Linked DNA regions of Homo sapiens: region 1 is linked to region 2. The links are contacts of gene promoters, found by promoter capture Hi-C in human tissues and cell types (Jung and others, 2019). All regions are on one chromosome and are shown on one strand. Each heading gives the region's core, a stretch centred on a gene start or on the middle of the fragment in contact. The rest is flanking DNA. Distances are from core to core; before and after follow the strand shown. Region 1 has its middle 46 kb from the start of MC3R. Region 2 holds the start of MC3R (melanocortin 3 receptor).

Region 1 (4,099 bases), core at 863-3,362, 46 kb after region 2:
TGAGGCAGAGAATCGCTTGAACCTGGGAGTCAGAAGCTGCAGTGAGCCGAGATCGCACCGCTGCACTCCAGCCTGGGTGACAGAGCAAGACACCATCTCAAAAAAAAAAAAAATTCTCATATTGTTAATGAATTTGTGTTATGTGGCTCAATTATATTAATAACAAATGAATTTCAAATCCAACCTAGAAGAATTTCTTTAGGCACTAAAAATCTGACAGTGCTAGAAAAAATATATACCATCTCCAATGTGTGTGTGTGTGTGTGTGTGTGTGTGTGTGTATGTATATGTTTGCTTGTAGAGAATCATAACAGAATGATCAATAAAAGTCTTTGAAGCAGAAATATAAATTTCATTAGAGTAAGACTCTGTATGGAAATTTTTTAAATAGTAACTTCAAAGAAAAAAGAGACCATGTAAAATTTTAAATAAGTTTTTATACATTTTTAAATGAATAATGATGGGTTTGAACTCATTGGATCTATTTAAACATACAACTTTTTTATTTTAAAATGTCAATATTTATAATATGCCAGAAGTAATATTTTTTGCAAGGATTTGAACTTACAAATGAAAGTTTTGAATGTCAACCTCAAAACGGGTAAACGGGGGGCCAGGTTTGGTGGCTCATGCCTATAATCCCAGTACTTCAGAGGCTGAGGCGGGAAAATCACTCGAACTCAGAAGTTCAAGACCAACCTGGATAATATGGTGAAACCTCATCTTTACAAAAAATATAAAAACTAGCTGGGTGTGGTGGCACACACCTACATTCCCAGATGCTCGAGAGGCTGAGGTGGGAGGATGACCTGAGCCTGGGAGGCAGAGGTAGCAGTGAGCCAAGATAGCACCACTGTACTCCAGCCTGGGTGACAGAGCCCAGACCTTGTCTCAAAATTAAAAAAAAAAAAAAGGTAGAGGGAATTCATGTGTTATGAACTAAATGTTTGTGTTCCCCAAAATCCATATGTTGAAATCCTAATCCCCAATGTGATGGTATTAGGAGGTAAGTCTTTGGGGAGACAATTAGGTTGTGAGAGTGAAGCCCCCATGAATGAGATTAGTATCCTTATAAAAGAGACTCCAGAGAGCTCTCTAGCCCTCCTTCCAATGAGAAGACTGGGGTCTGCAACCTGGAAGAGGGTCCTCATCAGAACCTGACCATGCTGACTCCCTGATCTCAGACTCCCAGACTCCAGAACAGGGAGAAGTAAATTTCTGTTGTTTCTAAGCCACCCAGTCTAGGTATTTTGTTATAGCCCCCTGACTAAGCATAGCTTTTCTAAATAAGCTTGGGGTGATTTGCAAGTAAAAAACTGTGCCATTCACTTAGTCACCAGTCCCCTCCTTGGGACATGCTCTGGATTCAGGAATTATTTGGCTGACGTATTTGTTGAATTTCCTTCCAGCAGCATTGTCTCTTCAACTAGACTTGAAGCAAAGAGTCATATGCTTTGCCGTGTCCGCTTTCTCCAAAATATGGAATCAAATTGAGCCCTGACTCTAATGCCTCTTGATCCACCCTCTTGGAACCCATATATGATCTGAGTTGAAATCTCACATCTGCTGGTTATTACATGTGCACCATGAGCACTTGCTAAGCTTCTTGGGGTCACAGTTTTCTGCTTCTGTAAAACAGAGACAAGGCCACGCACCTACTGTATCTAAGTTACAGAATTTTTACAAGGCTCAAGTAGGATCATTTTTCCTTTTAGTTTTAACTCTGATTTTTCAAGTATTAACTTGCAACCTATTCGCCTTGTTCTGAGGTCACAGAGCCTCAAAAAAAAGTAATAAAAATCCCTTCCTGGAAAAAAAACCAATGAACCCTAAAACAAGTGAACCTATTCCCCTTTTCTTGCACAATAAGCCAAATATGGCCTAAAATTCCTTCACAAAACCCACTGATACTGTTTGGCTGTGTCCCCACCCAAATCTCATCTTGAATTGTAGCTTCCATAATTCCCATATGTCATGGGAGGGACCCAGTGGGAGATAGTTGAATCATGGGGGAGGGTCTTTCCTGTGCCGTTCACATGATAGTGAATAAGTTTTACAAGATCTGATGGTTTTATAAAGGCCAGTTCCCCTGCACAAATTCTCTCTTGTTTGCTGCCATGTAAGATGTCCCTTGCTCTTCCGCCATGATTGTGAGACTTTCCCAGCCATATGGAACTGAGCCAATTAATTACCAGTTTATAAATTACCCAGTCTTGGGTATGTCTTTATCAGCAGCATGAGAACAGACTAATACATCCACCCTCTCTAAGCTACTACCCATTAATCTGTAAGCCTACTTTCCCTCTGATGTGTTTAATTATTGATTATTGAGTATGAAGTGTTTTAACCATTAAGCTTTTGATGATACCACCCTCCAGGGGGGGCAGAGCTTCACACACAGGGTCCGCTACCAGAAGGGAGGGAAGATGACACATTTTCCCTGCATCCTGGGGAAATGCGTAGGCTCCTGAACTGGAAACAAAACTGAATCCATCAAGGCCTCAGACCAAAATGCGGGGTGGAGGCACGAGGATCGGCCAGGAAGAGATCACACTTATTTCCCAGAACCCAAGAGGTGTATCACAGATCTGCCGTCACTCATGTGGGCAAGCACAACTGCTCTCAGGTAGCAGCAATAACCTACCTGTGTCAGCGCAGGACATTCAGAATGCAGGCACTGCCACCTGCTTTGATTTATCTCATCCCAAGCAAGGCAAACAACCCAAACAGAAACTCCAGACATTCCCTCTGAAATTCTATATATGGGTTTGCTGTCAAGTCAAAGTTTGGGACTAACTGTGCTCGCATCGTTTTGGGATGAATGGACACTAACATGAACAAAAGGTGAGGATGGTCCAATCTTAGAACAGAAATGGGAGGATGGATGAAAAATCTTTTGAACATAAAATCAAAATTTAGCAAAGAGCCTCTGAGGTCTCCCCTAGGCCCTTATAAGCTCTGCATCTACCACCTCCTAGCTAAGTGACTTTGGACACATTATTTTAGCCCCTCCCCAAGCTTGTTTCCTCATCAGTAAAATGAGATAACTATAGTGTGCACCTCAAGAGGCTGTGGAAGGCTTACATGAGATAAATCCAGGTAAAGTGCACAGCAATTCCTGAAGGATAAATAGAAAGTACTTAACACACATCAGCTTGGGGACGGAGATAGTGACATTTATTCATCCACCTAATGTTCCACTACTGCCAACCTCACTCCAATAACAATGAACTGCATTGATCTCCAAAACACGGCACAAACTGTCATGCTCCTACGTAATTTCTTATGTGGCTCACTCTGCTCAGAATCCCTTGAGCTGGCTAAGTCCTACTGGGCTTTCAAGACTCAGGTCCTGTGTCACTTCCTCCAGGAAGACAGTGGTACATACTCTTCTTCCTTCTCATCGCCTCATAGCACCTGGCACATAACTTCATTACATTCATGTGGATCCTTTAGATTCCAAGAGGCAGAAACACTACTCAAAATGACTTAAATTGAAGAGAAAGTCCAAAGGGTAGACATGACTTCAGGCACAGCTGGAAATAAGAACACAGATGATTTCAGCAGGAGCCTCGGGCTGGTGTCACTCTCAGGCACCTCTCCCCTGCCAAAGCAAGGGTACTGCCAGCAGTTTCAGGCTTCCATCTTTCCAGCTTACCCACCCCAGAGGATGATGCCTGTCTTTTGTGATGGTCCTAGTAGTAGGTCCAATACTGACACTCATTGGCTTAAATCGTGTTCTCATCCTGGAACAATTACTGCACCAGGAGGCAAAATGTTTTGACTGGCCACACCTAAGTCATATGCCAACCCTTTGATCTAAACTGGAGGGCCAGCCACATCCAAGCTACACGATCTGCAAGTTGGAGTATATGGGGCCCCAAAGGAAAGTAGCAGCTTATAACCTGAAAAGGAGGCATAGATGGCAGGAAATCAAAAAAGCAAAAGCTCAAACACCAGATGCCAAAAACCCATCATCCTACTAACCACAACCTACTCACCATTGGTGTGCACACCCCTCCCCGCCGTTGAAAAGTGTTTCCCTAGGTTGGAAGCCATGTCTTGGTCATGCTTCCCCAGGGCCTAGGAGAGGGCCTGG
Region 2 (3,631 bases), core at 157-2,656:
CATTGCTGTCAAGGTACTGTCCAAATTCTCACATCTGGCTGAGGCTGTCCTTCAGGATTCAGGCACCTCTCAACTTTTTAAGAAACTGTGCAGCCTCATTTCTCAGATTGTGTCTCCTATTTCCATGCTCTGACCAGAGCAGACTACTTTCAGCACTTTCAAAAGCCCAAGATTCTTTTTCAGTGGAGCTCAACTGTGACTATGCCCCAGCTCACCTGTCAAAAATTGCAAACACACTTGTTCAGGTCTTACACCTGGGTGATTCTGACTCCGCGGGTCAAATGGGATCTCCACATCCACAATCTGTGATGACTTCTATGGCCAGGGTGCTCTCTGCCTCCAGGCTGCAGACGTGTGATTCCCTCTGCCTGGAGTCCTCTTCTACCTCCTCCAGCTCCAGCCCCCACCCCACCACCCACCCCAAACTGGATATGACCTCTTCCTCCTTGAAGTCAAAGCATAGGTGCTCCTTCCTCCAGGAACTTTGACAGTCCGGGTTAGGGCTCTTCCTCTTTGCATCCCTGGTTTCCTGGACTTTCCTGATTCAAGCATTTATTGATTCCTCTTCTTCCACCCCAGACTCTGAGTTCGGGGAAGCCTGAGATAGTGGCTGTTGTCTTGCTCACCACTGTATTTCCTGCACTCAGCAGAGACCTGACACATAGTAGGCGCTCAATAAATGTTTGCTAAACAACAACAACAAATGAATGAACTAACAAATAAACAAACAAATGAACAGATGAGTGGATGCCTGTGGCAGTTTCCATGACAAACACAAAGGGCTAAGCCAAGCCAGCAAGCAGACAGCCGTGCGGCCTGCAGAGGGCACTAGTCTGCTTCTTAATCTCCCTGCAGAATCCTCAGGGCCAGGTACCTGCTGTCAGTCAGAGAGGTGCCCGATGCTCAGTGGTCATTCTGCTGCGCTGAAGATTAAGTAGGAGTTGTTTGCCCTTGGCCAATATGAAAAACCTGAGTGTTCTCCCTTCACTTCTAGCGACAAGTAACACATCCCCTGTCTTGCCATGAAAAGAGCTGTAACTGTAGCAGCCGGTGGCAGGTTTTCTGTTCCCAGGTGGGGAAGTGAGGAGAGACAAACAGAGGGGTGAGAGGGAGACAGAAGGAAGACAGCTGGTAAGAGACCCTATGGTGTATTTTTTCTATGTAAACAAGATAAAAACTGCTCCTCCTGGAACAGCAAAGTTCTCCCTATGTCTCCAAGCTACAAACTTGCATGCTAGCTACTAACTAGCTACTCTCCCTCTCTCTCTCTCTTCCCCCTTCGCTCTTTCTCTCTGTGTGTATGTCTCTCTCTCTCTCTGTCTCTTCCTCCACCCTCTCTCACTATCTGTCTCTCTACCCTCCCCATCCTTTTATTCTAGAGGAGAATAAACTCTAAGGCCAGATTGAATGAGCATCCAAAAGACGTATCTGGAGGGAGATTTTGTCTTTCCTGTGAGCAGCAGCAGCTTCCTACGGACCCTGCTGGAGCCCCAGCTCGGATCAGCCCTTCTGACAGCAATGAATGCTTCGTGCTGCCTGCCCTCTGTTCAGCCAACACTGCCTAATGGCTCGGAGCACCTCCAAGCCCCTTTCTTCAGCAACCAGAGCAGCAGCGCCTTCTGTGAGCAGGTCTTCATCAAGCCCGAGGTTTTCCTGTCTCTGGGCATCGTCAGTCTGCTGGAAAACATCCTGGTTATCCTGGCCGTGGTCAGGAACGGCAACCTGCACTCCCCGATGTACTTCTTTCTCTGCAGCCTGGCGGTGGCCGACATGCTGGTAAGTGTGTCCAATGCCCTGGAGACCATCATGATCGCCATCGTCCACAGCGACTACCTGACCTTCGAGGACCAGTTTATCCAGCACATGGACAACATCTTCGACTCCATGATCTGCATCTCCCTGGTGGCCTCCATCTGCAACCTCCTGGCCATCGCCGTCGACAGGTACGTCACCATCTTTTACGCGCTCCGCTACCACAGCATCATGACCGTGAGGAAGGCCCTCACCTTGATCGTGGCCATCTGGGTCTGCTGCGGCGTCTGTGGCGTGGTGTTCATCGTCTACTCGGAGAGCAAAATGGTCATTGTGTGCCTCATCACCATGTTCTTCGCCATGATGCTCCTCATGGGCACCCTCTACGTGCACATGTTCCTCTTTGCGCGGCTGCACGTCAAGCGCATAGCAGCACTGCCACCTGCCGACGGGGTGGCCCCACAGCAACACTCATGCATGAAGGGGGCAGTCACCATCACCATTCTCCTGGGCGTGTTCATCTTCTGCTGGGCCCCCTTCTTCCTCCACCTGGTCCTCATCATCACCTGCCCCACCAACCCCTACTGCATCTGCTACACTGCCCACTTCAACACCTACCTGGTCCTCATCATGTGCAACTCCGTCATCGACCCACTCATCTACGCTTTCCGGAGCCTGGAATTGCGCAACACCTTTAGGGAGATTCTCTGTGGCTGCAACGGCATGAACTTGGGATAGGATGCAGGGCCATGGAAATGATCATCAGTCGGGTCACTTTTGACTTTCCATCCACGTGAGGTGTTTAGAAAGAAAAATATATATACTTAGAAAATATAAAAATGTGTTAACAGCCATGATTGTACTTGTCGTTTGTTTTTAAGTTTACAAAGCCTTTTAAAGGGGAAAATTGGTGAACAACAGATTCTCTGAAAGGATTCCAAGATGGGTAAGTCACAAACTCTGATTTCCCAAATAGTCACTGGGAGAAATCAGCGAAGGCTTCTCTGCATGCTCTCTGCACTCATTTCCAAACACCCAGGGTGTGCGACGCCTGTCTGCTCATCTGCTCCACACCCACGTCTTCATGCTCCAGGCCAGACCAGACTGAAGGATTCTCATGAACAATAAGGGTGGTTCAGATCTCTTGCAAGCAAACCTGTTACAGCTACGACCTCCTGCTGCCAGCTACACGGAGAGATAGCTTTGCACTTATAACTCCGTAGGAGACTGAGTTCTACTCTATTATTCTATTTACAGTTAGACAATTGTCTCTTTGTGAAAGGAGCAATGCTATGCCGTTTTCCCCTTTTCTTACCCCCATATCCCTTCAGTTGTCCCCACCCCCAAAGGTAGCATGAGGATGTAACCCACTTCTATTTTTCTGTTGTTGTGTTGGTGTGTGTTGTTGTTTTGTTTTTATGGATTAAATCTAAGACAACCTTCAAAACTCTAACGAAAGAGAGAAAGTGCTTTGGACAATCAGAATATACTTGTGTACGTGTATTTTGATACCTTGCTATTTTAAGGTATAGATTAATCTTTTTAAAATAACTTCTTTTTTTCTATCATTTACTTTTAGCCTTTAAAACAAGAAAGGAAATCATGGGTTGGGGTACATGTATATACGTGTGTGTGTGTGTGTGTGTGTGTGTGTGTGTGTGTGTGTATCACAAGAAATTGCTTTACTGTAGCTTAAGATAGTTTGAGAAACCGTAGAACCACTGTGTGACTTTCTTGGGAGCCCTTGTTTTTGCTTATAGTAATTGCATCTCTATCACAGGACTTCTTCAATATTATCTATGAAAGAGAAAGTTTTTTTGTTCTTTTCCCTTTTTGCTTGGCATTGTGTTAAAGTTGAGTGACCCTGTTATCAATGTCT

Evidence for each region. Contacts are between HindIII fragments. The study calls those that stand out against the background at their distance.
Region 1: a contact is called between a fragment that was not itself captured here and the fragment with the promoter of MC3R in region 2, in 4 of the 25 tissues and cell types used here (aorta, mesenchymal stem cells, small bowel and 1 more).

The regions. Positions count from the first base shown.
Region 1 is chr20:56,292,812-56,296,910 of GRCh38, forward strand. No RefSeq gene overlaps it. Among named protein-coding and RNA genes, the nearest start is that of MC3R, 46 kb to the left of the region's middle. The HindIII fragment of the contact is 4,431 bases long and covers 1-4,099 here.
Region 2 is chr20:56,247,326-56,250,956 of GRCh38, forward strand. It overlaps MC3R (melanocortin 3 receptor), which reads left to right and starts at 1,407. Exons shown (of 1, transcript NM_019888.3): 1 at 1,407-2,490. The coding sequence starts at 1,519. The coding sequence ends at 2,490. RefSeq lists a silencer at 808-877. The HindIII fragment of the contact is 18,891 bases long and covers 1-3,631 here.